Regions from separate parts of the Homo sapiens genome. Here region 2 is linked to region 1. The links are contacts of gene promoters, found by promoter capture Hi-C in human tissues and cell types (Jung and others, 2019). All regions are on one chromosome and are shown on one strand. Each heading gives the region's core, a stretch centred on a gene start or on the middle of the fragment in contact. The rest is flanking DNA. Distances are from core to core; before and after follow the strand shown. Region 1 holds the start of KBTBD11 (kelch repeat and BTB domain containing 11). Region 2 overlaps DLGAP2 (DLG associated protein 2).

What was found. The method cuts DNA at HindIII sites, captures the fragments that hold promoters and counts their contacts. A contact is called where the count stands out against the background at its distance.
Region 2: a fragment that was not itself captured here is called in contact with the fragment with the promoter of KBTBD11 in region 1 in 1 of the 25 tissues and cell types used here (heart left ventricle).

Annotation. Positions count from the first base shown.
Region 1 is chr8:1,969,197-1,975,193 of GRCh38, forward strand. KBTBD11 (kelch repeat and BTB domain containing 11) reads left to right here and starts at 4,481. Exons shown (of 2, transcript NM_014867.3): 1 at 4,481-4,739. It overlaps KBTBD11-AS1 (KBTBD11 antisense RNA 1), which reads right to left and starts at 4,149. Exons shown (of 3, transcript NR_136275.1): 1 at 3,952-4,149; 2 at 3,344-3,467; 3 at 1,983-3,161. KBTBD11-OT1 (KBTBD11 overlapping transcript 1) reads left to right here and starts at 2,201. Exons shown (of 3, transcript NR_126346.1): 1 at 2,201-2,322; 2 at 2,729-2,841. The HindIII fragment of the contact is 1,977 bases long and covers 2,759-4,735 here.
Region 2 is chr8:1,707,863-1,713,106 of GRCh38, forward strand. It overlaps DLGAP2 (DLG associated protein 2), which reads left to right. Exons shown (of 15, transcript NM_001346810.2): 15 at 1-614. Among named protein-coding and RNA genes, the nearest start is that of CLN8, 53 kb to the right of the region's middle. The HindIII fragment of the contact is 7,164 bases long and covers 379-5,244 here.

The sequences.
Region 1 (5,997 bases), core at 3,231-5,730:
ATATATATTTATAAATTTATATATAAAATATATATTTATAAATTTATATATAAAATACATATTTATAAATTTATATAAAATCTATATTTATAAATTTATATATAAAATCTGTATTTATAAATTTTATATGGAAAATGTATATTTATAAATTTTATATGGAAAATGTATATTTATAAATTTTATATGGAAAATGTATATTTATAAATTTTATATGGAAAATGTATATTTATAAATATATTATATATTATATATAATAAAATATATATAAAATATATTTTTATATTATGTAATATATATTTTTATATTTTATATATAAATATATATTTTATATTTTATATATAAATATATATTTTATATTTTATATATAATATATATTTATATATTTATATATTTATATATATTTATATATTTATAGATTTTATAAATAATAAAATCTATAAATCTATAAATCTATAAATCTATATAAATATATATAAATATATAAATATAAATATAACATAAAATTTATATTTAAAATACATAAATATATATATTTGAGACAGGGTCTCACTGTGTTGCTCCAGCTGGAGTGCAGTGGCGCAATCATGGCTCAGAGCAGCCTCAACCTCCCAGGCTCAAGCAATCCTCTCACTTCGGCCTCCTGAGTAGCTGGGACTACAGGTGCACGCCAGCACGCCCGGCTAATGTTTTGTATTTTTGTGGAGACAGGGTTTCTCCATGTTGCCCAGGCTGGTCTCCAACTCCTAGGCTCAGGCAATCTGCCCGCCTCAGCCTCCCAAAGTGCTGGGACCACAGATGTGAGTCACTGCCCCCGACCCTCAAAATATTTTAAATTGCAGCTAACTTGCTCTAACATTATTAATATATGCCTTGAAACTATTTTAAAGTAATGGTTGCCATCTTATTTCCTTTATTTTTCTGAAAAATGGTTACTAGGATTCCCCCTAATAAACGTACTGGCCATGTGGAGACAGCAGCGTTAATTCACTGGCAGAGCGTGTTGCCTGTGGGTAACCTGCAATCTGCTTGAGGGAACCACGTGCCCAGGCCCCTGCAGCCCCTGGGAGAGCCTGTCAGGGATGATGAGCAATGGGCATTTGGGCTCAACAGGCCTCACTCCTTCATTTAGTCAACAATTACCGAGCTTGGCTTCATGCCCTCACATTGCTGGGCCCAGGGGTACAAAACTAAAAAGCATGGCCTCCGTTTCCCTATTCGAATCAGGACAATTAGGGTATCATCTTAAACCTGGGACTGTCTGTAATTTAAAATTTGGGGTCCAGGCACGGTGGCTCACGCCTGTAATCCCAGCGCTTTGGGAGGCCGAGGTGGGTGGATCACCTCAGGTCAGGAGTTTGAGACCAGACTGACCAACGTGGTGAAACCCCATCTCTATTAAAAATAAAAAAAATTAGCCGGGCGTGGTGGCACACACCTGTAATCCCAACTACTCGGGAGTCTGAGGCAGGAGAATCACGTGAACCCGGAAGGTGGAGGTTGTAGTACGCTGAGATCACACCATTCCACTTCACACTGGGCAACAAGAGCGAAACTGTCTCAAAAAAATAAAATTTGGGGAATGACATGCTTAGCACATGGCCAATGCATGTTTGCTATCGATAGTCAATAGTGGACAATATCAAAGAGGACTTAGGAACACACTGTTTCCTTAATATGAGGGTCTCAGGCGCTGGCTGGTAACATAGGTGGAGAGACTGACATAAGGAAAGAGCTTCACAGTATTTAAGCAGCAGCTTGCGACAAAAACGCAATTGCACACAGTTCATCAGAGCTGAGGAAGCACTGAAGTAGGTAAGGTTCACCTAAGGGAGTGCCAGGGCCGGGTAAGGTTCACCTAAGGGAGTGCCAGGGCCGGGTAAGGTTCACCTAAGGGAGTGCCAAGGCCAAGACTACTTTTGTACAATATGCACAGAATTTTTTAATGAACCAGTGAGTGTTGTTTCAAAGCCAACACATATATTCTAATTATTTCTTCATGCCAAGAAGCTGGAAGTACTTTATAGCAATTGGCTCCATTCCTGACAGTTATTGGGATTTAACAGCTTTATTGGCTGGGGGAGGAACACATGAACTCCTAAGGGCTAATACAAGCATTTGGGAAATTATCTGTTGTCTGGCGTCAGCACTGGAACAGGGCAGCAGAGCTGGAGAGTAAGAAGCAGAGCTGGAGAGGAAGAAGTGTTTGCTAAGTCACCGCGCAGGAGGAGACAGAATCAGAGGTGACGAATGTAAGTCCACCCATTGGCTTAAGATCCAGTATCCTGAGTGAGTTGCACAGATCCTCTCCTTCAGTCCTCTCAGGTAGGTGCAGTGGTGTCTCCCTGGAGCACAGAGAGGCCAAGTATCTGGCTCCAAATCACAAGACTTGCAGAGGGTAAGGCTGGTGTCTAAGGTCCCATCAGTTGAACTCCAAAGCAGGCTGTCTAGAAATTGGGTTCAGAGACCTCCCAGCCTGGAACCCAGTTTGATGGAGTCCCGCATTCAGGGGCCAGTAAACCACTGTACCCTGGACAACTCCATAAGCTTCGGTTATATTTTTAGGGCGGTTTTGCATGTTGAAATATTTGCATGCTTCGAGTCTACCATGCATGATCAGGCTGTCCCTGACCAGGGGAAAATTTACATAGTAAAATAGTATTACCCTTGAAATAGATTTAAGATAGGTCCTCCTTTTTCTTGACAGTATTACAACCCAGTTCAATTTCAGGAACTCTAGAGGTCCCTGCAGTTATGAAGAACTAATTAAAGGCATGAAATGTTCCTCTGCAAGTTTCATTGACCATATTGGGCCTACAGTCCATTTCCAAATAAATATCTAAGGTAAGAAAAATATGGGACTCCCCACAGACTACTTATCTACCAGATGGTGTGGGGTTTGGATGGATGTTTTCAGTTACTTCAGCAATTTTTTCATTAATTCAGTATTTATTGAGAACCTAATGTATGCCAAGCTTGTAAAATGCAGTGGGGGGTATGACCTATTCCCAGGTCTCTGGACTCTGGCAGAATGGTAGAGAAGATGCTGTCGGGCTTGCATGTTCAGAACACCGTGTCTTAGGTGACCTCCCGGGCCTTTGGAGGCCCAACCCCAGGGTGGCGGGATAGCCAGGTGAGGCTTTGTTTGGCCTGTTCACGTTTCTCTGGAAAAGAATGGGGGTAGTTAGGCCAGGCGCGGTGGCTCATGCCTGTAATCCCAGCACTTTGGGAGGCCAAGACAGGTGGATCACTTGAGGTCAGGAGATCGAGACCAGCCTGGCCAATGTACAGTGAAACCCTGTCTCTACTAAAAATACAAAATTTAGCTGGGTGTGGTGGTGCATGCCTGTAGTCACAGCTACTTGGGAGGCTGAGGCAGGAGAATTGCTTGAACCCAGGACGCAGAGATCGCAGTGAGCCGAGATTGCACCACTGCATTCCAGCCTGGGCGACAGAGTGAGACTCCATCTCTAAAAAAAAACAAAAGAGAAAAAGAAGTATTATTCTGCAGCCGAAAGGAAGTAGAGATGCACTAAGAAGATCACAGTAGAGTTTGGAACATTTTTGGAGTAAACTGAACAAAATAAAAACGGAGCAGCATGGGAATTATTTTAGCTTCCACCAAAAGGGTCTGTTTCTGCTATAGTTAACGGAAGTTTTCAATTTTCAAAAAATCCCAGTAGCTCGCTGAGTTTCAGCCTCCTGTAATTCAAGTACTGACAGCAGGTACTACTCTTCTTGGCAACAGAGTGAAAAAGGTTTTAAAGATGTTCCCGGGGCGTTAGCTTTGGTGCTGGAGTTGTAACGGCTCATTATGTGTATACAGCATGGAACTGGCAAAGACTGTCACAAGCAAAAAGAACACAAAAAGAGAAAGTAAAGGCTCTGGCTCTCGGTACTTATGGAAATCTCATCGTCATTAATTTGCACAAAGCCATTAAAAATAGCATTTACCAGCAGGGGTCCAGCGTTAATTAGAACCCAGCCTGGGAGCAGCTGGAACTCTCGGCGCTCCTGGCTCAGTCCTCGCCGCCCTGAACCCGTCTGCACCGCAGGGCCCGAGTGGGAGGCAGAGGCCACATTTCTGGATATGAGCAAAAGCTCCGACATTTCGTCCACTCTCGTGTTGTGAACTTTAAAAAATTCTGGAATCTGTTGAGAATTTGGCAATAAGTTTTTAACCACTAAATATGTCAACAACGCATCGCCTCTACTTTTACCAAAAAATAGGCGCACGAAACTCCGCTGTTTGCGCCCGCGGACACCTGTCCCCGCCTCCTCGCAGGAAGCGGCCCCCGCGCGTGGGCGCGGGCTCGGGCTCGGGCTCGAGTGGCGACGTGGGCCGCGGTCCTGGAGGGGGAGAAGCGCCCGGCGGGCAGGCGCGGGGCAGGGAAGCCCCGGGGAACCCACAGCCCCTCCGCAGACCCAGCCAGGGGGCGCGCGCCCGAAAACGCCCCGTGTGCACGCGCCCGCCCCCCTCCCCGCGCCCCGCGCGCGCCCCTCGCAGCCTGGAGCCGGAGCGCTGGCTCCGCGCGGCCTGGAGAGGCGGAGAGGCCTGTCCACCGCCCCCTCTGCCGCCCACGCCCCGCTGCGGGTCGGAGGAGCAGCTCCCGCTCGCAGGTGCTCGGAGAGGCCGGGCCGCGGCTCCCACAGGTGCCGGGAAGCGGCCGCGCGCATGCGCCGGAGCCCACCCGCCTGGCTGCGCGTCCCGGGCCCGGCGGCTGAAGAGGAGCCGCGGCGAGGTAGGGCGGACCCCGGGGAGGCAGCGGCGGGGCCTGGCGGGCGGAGCGGGAAGCAGCCCGAGGCGCGGGTCGGAGGGGGCGGCGGGTGGGAGGTGGTCGGCGAGAGCGGCAGTAGGCGGGAGGGGAGAAAAGGGGAGGCCGGCAGGGGAGAGGCGGGGAGGGGAGGCCGGCAGGGGAGGGAGGGGAGCGGAGCGGAGGGGAGGGGAGGGGGGACCGGGAGAGGAGGGGGCAGCGCTGCCCGCGGCGGGGTGGGCGGCGGTGGGTGGTCTCCGCTCCGCCTCCGGGAGGCCGCGTGGGGGGCGTGGGGGCCTCCTCGCGGGGTCTCCACAGGCCCTCCCCCGGGACGCGGCAACCCCGGCCGGAAGACAATGAGCCGCCCGCGCCGCGCCCGCAGTCACCGCCCCCGCCGAGGGTCCCGCCGCCCCAGCCGGCACGGAAGCAGGAGCAGAAGCCGAAGCCAAGCGCGCGGGGCCAGGGCGGGGGCTCCTCCCGGGGTTGCTCCGCTTGGCTCTCGGCGGTCGCGGGGATCGGCTGTCCGGAGCGAACGGGGGTCTCTCCTGGACTCGGGGCCCTGGGGAGGGGAGCGCGGCCCTTGGTCCTCCGCCGCTGCGCCCGGGGTGCGGGGGTGTCCTGGCTGCTGACCCCCGCGAGCCCCGAGCACCGCGACCCACCCGCCCCACCGCGCCGCGGCTCCCGAGTCCTGCCGGGCGCCCCTTGCAGCCCCCGCCCCATGTGCTGGGGAGACCCCCGGGCGGTCTGGGCGGGATTCCGCAGGGGTCCCTCCTCTCAGGCGGGGCTCATTCTGGAGCATGAAAAGAGGGTGAACCAAAGTCCCTCCACCTCTTTAGAGTCCTACAAAACCACGTTTCCCCCTCCACCCACTCCAGTGTCTATTCTAAGGAAAAGAAAAGGAACAAATCAGTGCAGCGAGCTTTATTCTACTCAGCCCACGAAAGGCGCCGCCGTCAGATTTTAAAGTTCCAGCCATCCCCTCAGGCCCTGAGTGAGAAGTTCGCCCGATTCCCCGCGGTTCCCGCCTCCATTTCCCACTAAGGAGCAGTTACTCAGGCTCCAATTAGGACCCCTTAATGGATGTCAATGGAACCCTTCAGCCTTTTATCCTGAGCTAATAGTGTGCTATTATTAGAATAATCCTCCCCATTCCTGACATCACGGAAGGGAGCGTTCCATTGCCTTCAGATTTGCTCCAGCAACAACCTCGTGTGTGCAGATTTATGGTAACTGGCATTGCAATGCT
Region 2 (5,244 bases), core at 2,711-5,210, 260 kb before region 1:
ATTCACTGGAATTCAACTATTTTATGTCATTCTCTTTCTCACGCTTTTATGGTTCTTTTGATAAATTCTATTTAGTAGCATGCAGGATACCTAATCTGAATGTGCAATATGCTATTCATCACCACGACAATTTCTTACTTCCTCTTAATAACTTACCAGAATGTTGGTCATTCCTTTAAGGCAGTTAAGGATTGCTTTATTTGTGTTCTTTTTTCCCATGACTTTTTTTCACTCTCAGCTGACTGTAAGAAACTGTGCACCGTTTCCGCCATAACCGTCCTGTGACGATGCCTCCATTTGACTTCTGTATCGCTGATGTTCACCTCCTGTAAATAGTTTGGCAATTAAATTTTTTGAGAAAAGTAATGTTTACTTTTTTATTGGAGTGAATTCTCGTGTTATTTTAATCTCAGAAAAATTATATAGACCAAAGAGTTTTATCCGAAAAAAAATTACACTCTTCCTCCATTATATATTTCATTGTTGAAATATCCTCAATTTCTCTATATTTTAAGAAGTAATGGACATTTATTAAGGTTACAGATTTAATATGTATGCAAAATGGTATAGATTAAATGAGTTTTTAATTAATAAATCCTACAGTATTTAGTTAACGGTTGTTTTACGCTCTTTTGAGTTGCATTGAAAAGAGACGCACATTAGCTCACGGGACCTTATGGATCCTGGCTCCAGTGAGACAGGGTGGGATGTGGACTTGGTGATGAAACTCCAGGAGGACAAGTGGGTTCCAGTCCCCAGTGAGCCTGCAACTGCCAGGAAGCAGTGCAAGCCAGTCCATCCAGGGAGGTGACCGGTCTAGGAGGTGGACCGGTCCGGGGAGGCGACCAGTCCAGGGAGGGGACCAGTCCGGGAGGTAGACCAGTCTGGGGAAGTGACCAGTTGGAGAAGGTGGACCAGTCCGGGGAGGTGACCAGTCCGAGGAGGTGGACTAGTCCCGGGAGGTGGACCAGTCCAGGAGGTAGACCAGTCTGGGGAAGTGACCAGTTAGAGAAGGTGGACCAGTCCAGGAGGTAGACCAGTCTGGGGAAGTGACCAGTTAGAGAAGGTGGACCAGTCCGGGGAGGTGGACCACACGTCACCACTCTGAGCAGTTGCTCCCTGCCTTCCACCTCCTTGATCAGTTGCACCTGCCCTTCTTTCTCTTGCCTGTGACCAGCTAGTCTCACCCCTCTCAGTGAGAAATCCTGCTGCCTCATGTCTCTGCACCTTCTTTCTATGCACTCCTTGCCTGGATACTCTGAGTATTGCTCTGCAGTCTCCCCAGGGGCACAGTGCAGCTCTTGAGGACAACCCTCCCCCCAGCACACATCAGGACTGTGTTTCATGCATTGTTTTTCATGTCTTTCCTTTACTGTATTTCTTTTCAAGATACACTTATAACCAGCGAAAACAAAGCTTTATATATTTTTCTTTTTTAATCCCATAGCCCTTCAATAAATATTTTAATTTACTTGGCCTTTCATTTGAAACATTATACCTTCATCCTCATGTAGTCAAACATTATTTTCCCAGAAGTCAGTAAAAGTACAAATAAATTACTGTGGAATTCATTTTAAATTATAACAAGATAATTTATAGAATCTTTTAATTAAAAACCAAGAGACCAGTGCATGAGAATTTCTGGTTTCTCATACAGCATTCTGTCCTCACAACAAGAAAAAGTGGAACAAGCTGAAAAGCAGCAATTCTTTGTAGATTCTTATCAAAATGAATGTCACAGGGCAAACAGCTCCCCCAGAATGAGAGAGGCTGACACAGAGACTCACAACCCACTGAGCAGATGCCCAGGTACGGAAACCTCTGTGGGGACCTGTGCTGGGCTGGGGAAGCCTGACCCGTGGCTGACAAACCCAGAAGCTCAACGTGGACAAACCTGAGGACTGAAAACTCTAGGGGGCCCAGTCTTAGGACGCCCCCAACACCTTGTGAGCTTTACCCCCAGGAACCCCCCCGCCCCCCCCGCCAGGTTCTCAGGGTATAGATCAGAGAAAAATGCCCTTGTGTTTCCAGCAGGTGGGGGGAAAGTAGCCATTCTGAAATATGCCCAGAGCATCTGTTCACCTTAAAAAAAGGCCCTCAAGTAAAAGTATCCTACCAAAGCCTAACAGACAGACTTGGGGTTTGCCAGAGTCTGACATATCTAGGGGAAGGGAAAGACCCTATGCCAGCCCCCTGTAGCCATCCTAAGGCAGGGGTGGGGAGGGGGGACTGGGAAGGATTTACAAAGATCAGACCTCAGGGCACAGGCTCACTGAAAGACTGAGACCCAATCATAGGATAAGAGAAAGCTTCCCCTCCCCCCTACACCTTACCATTCCATCAATAGCACTTTTGTATTAAAAAAGAGGGAGGCCGGGTATGGTGGCTCGCACCTGTAATCCCAGCACTTTGGGATGCCAAGGTGAGAGGATCGCTTGAGCACAGGACTTTTTAAAAAAGAGACCCAACAGCATGCTGTTACCAGAAAAGCGCTTTAAATATAAAGACACTGATTAAAAGTAACACCATAGAGCAGTGTAAACCATGCTAACACTAATCCAAAGAAAGCTGCAGTCACTGCATTAACACCAGACAGGGCACCCTTCAGACAAGAAATCTCCTCCAGGACACAGAAGGACATGACATAATGATAAAGAGGCCAGTTCTCCACAAAGGCATGACAATGCTCAATGTGCCTGTGCCTAAAAACAGTGTCAAGTGACACGAAAACCAGCAGAACTACAAAGAAAGAGAAATCCACTGTGGCGGTTAGAGAGCTCAGCACCTGTCTACCAGTAACTGACAGATCCAGCCAGCAGAAAATCAGCAAGGACATAGCTGACCTCAACAGCACCACTGGTTACCTAGCTATAATGCACACCTAACACCCTACTTCGTCCAACTGCAGCAGAACACACAGGCTTCCCAAGCTACACTCTGGGCTATGAAACACACCTTAACAGATGTAAAAGAAGCACCACTGGTTACCTAGCTATAATGCACACCTAACACCCTACTTCGTCCAACTGCAGCAGAACACACATGCTTCCCAAGCTACACTCTGGGCTATGAAACACACTTTAAAAATGTAAAAGAAGCACCACTGGTTACCTAGCTATAATGAACACCTAACACCCTACTTCATCCAACTACAGCAGAACACACATGCTTCCCAAGCTACACTCTGGGCTATGAAACACACTTTAAAAATGTAAAAGAAGCACCACTGGTTACCTAGCTATAATGCACACCTAACACCCTACTTCGTCCAACTGCAGCAGAACACACAGGCTTCCCAAGCTACACTCTGGGCTATGAAACACACCTTAACAGATGTAAAAGAAGCACCACTGGTTACCTAGCTATAATGCACACCTAACACCCTACTTCGTCCAACTGCAGCAGAACACACATGCTTCCCAAGCTACACTCTGGGCTATGAAACACACTTTAAAAATGTAAAAGAAGCACCACTGGTTACCTAGCTATAATGAACACCTAACACCCTACTTCATCCAACTACAGCAGAACACACATGCTTCCCAAGCTACACTCTGGGCTATGAAACACACGCTAACAGATGTAAAAGAAGCACCACTGGTTACCTAGCTGTAATGAACACCTAACACCCTACTTCATCCAACTACAGCAGAACACACATGCTTCCCAAGCTACACTCTGGGCTATGAAACACACGCTAACAGATGTAAAAGAATAGAGTCATACAATGTATGAACTCTCAATTCCACAACGGAGTTAAACTAGAAATCAGTAACAGAAAGATAGCTGGAAAATCCCCAAACACATGGAGATTAAGCAATGCACTTCTAATACCACATGGATCTACAAAGAAGTCTCAAAAGAAATTTAAAAATATTTAAACTAAATGAAAATAACAACACAATATATGTAAATTTGTGAGATGCAGCAAAAGCAGTGCCTGGAAGAAATGCATAGCATTCAATGCCTGTATTAGAAAAGAATGATCCAAAAGCAATCATTTAGATATCCATCTTAGGAGGCAGTCAAATCCAAAGTAAGCACAGGAAATGAAATAATAAAAATTAGAGCAGAAATCAATACAATTGAAAATAGGAAACAGAGAAAAATAATGTAATCAAAAGCCAGCGCTTTGAAAAGATCAATAAAATTGATAAGCCGCTAACCGTTCACTCTCCTGGAAAAGGGGCTGCAGCCAGGGAGCCAAGTGGTCTGGCTCGGTGGGTCCCACCCCCAAGGAGCCCAGCAAGCTAAGATCCACTGGCTTGAAATTCTTGCTGCCAGCACAGAAATCAACCTGAAATCAACCTGAAATGCTCAAGCTTGGTGCGGGCAGGGGTGCCCACCACTGCGAGGCTTGAGTAGGCAGTTTTACCCTCACCGTGTAAACAAAGCCTCTGGGAAGTTCGAACTGGGCAATCCCACCGCAGCTCAGCAAGGCCACTGTGGCCAGACTGCCTCTCTAGACTCCGCCTCTCTGGGCAGGGCATCTCTGAAAAACAGGCAGCAGCCCCAGTCAGGGGCTTGTAGATAAAACCCCCATCTAACTGGGACAGAGCACCCAGGGAAAGGGGCGGCTGTGGGTGCAGCTTCAGCAGAATTAAACGCTCATGCCTGACGGCTGTGAAGACAACAGCAGATCTCCCAGCACAGCACTCAAGTCTCTGCTAAGGGTCAGACTGCCTCCTCAACTGGGTCCCTGACCCTGGTGTATCCTGACTGGGAGAAACCTCCCAGTAGGGGACAACAGACACCTCATACAGGAGAGCTCTGGCTGGCATCTGGTGGGTGCTCCTCTGGGATGAAGATTCCAAAGGAAGGAACAGGCAGCAATCTTTGCTGTTCTGCAGCCTCCGCTGGCGATACTCAGGCAAACAGGGTCTGGAGTGGACCTCCAGCAAACTCCAGCAGACCTGCAGCAGAGGGGCCTGATGGTTAGAAGGAAAACTAACAAACAGAAAGCAATAGCATCAACATCAACAAAAAGGACATCCACACCAGAACCCCATCTGAAGGTCAACAGCATCAAAGACCAAAGGTAGAGAAATCCATGAAGATGGAAGGAACTGGCGCAAAAAGGCTGAAAATTCCAAAAGCCATAACGCCTCTTCTTCTCCAAAGGATCACAACTCCTCGCCAGCAAGGGAACAAAACTGGACAGAGAATAAGTTTGATGAATTGACAGAAGTAGGCTTCAGAAGGTGGGTAACAAACTCCTCTGAGCTAAAGGAGCATGTTCTAACC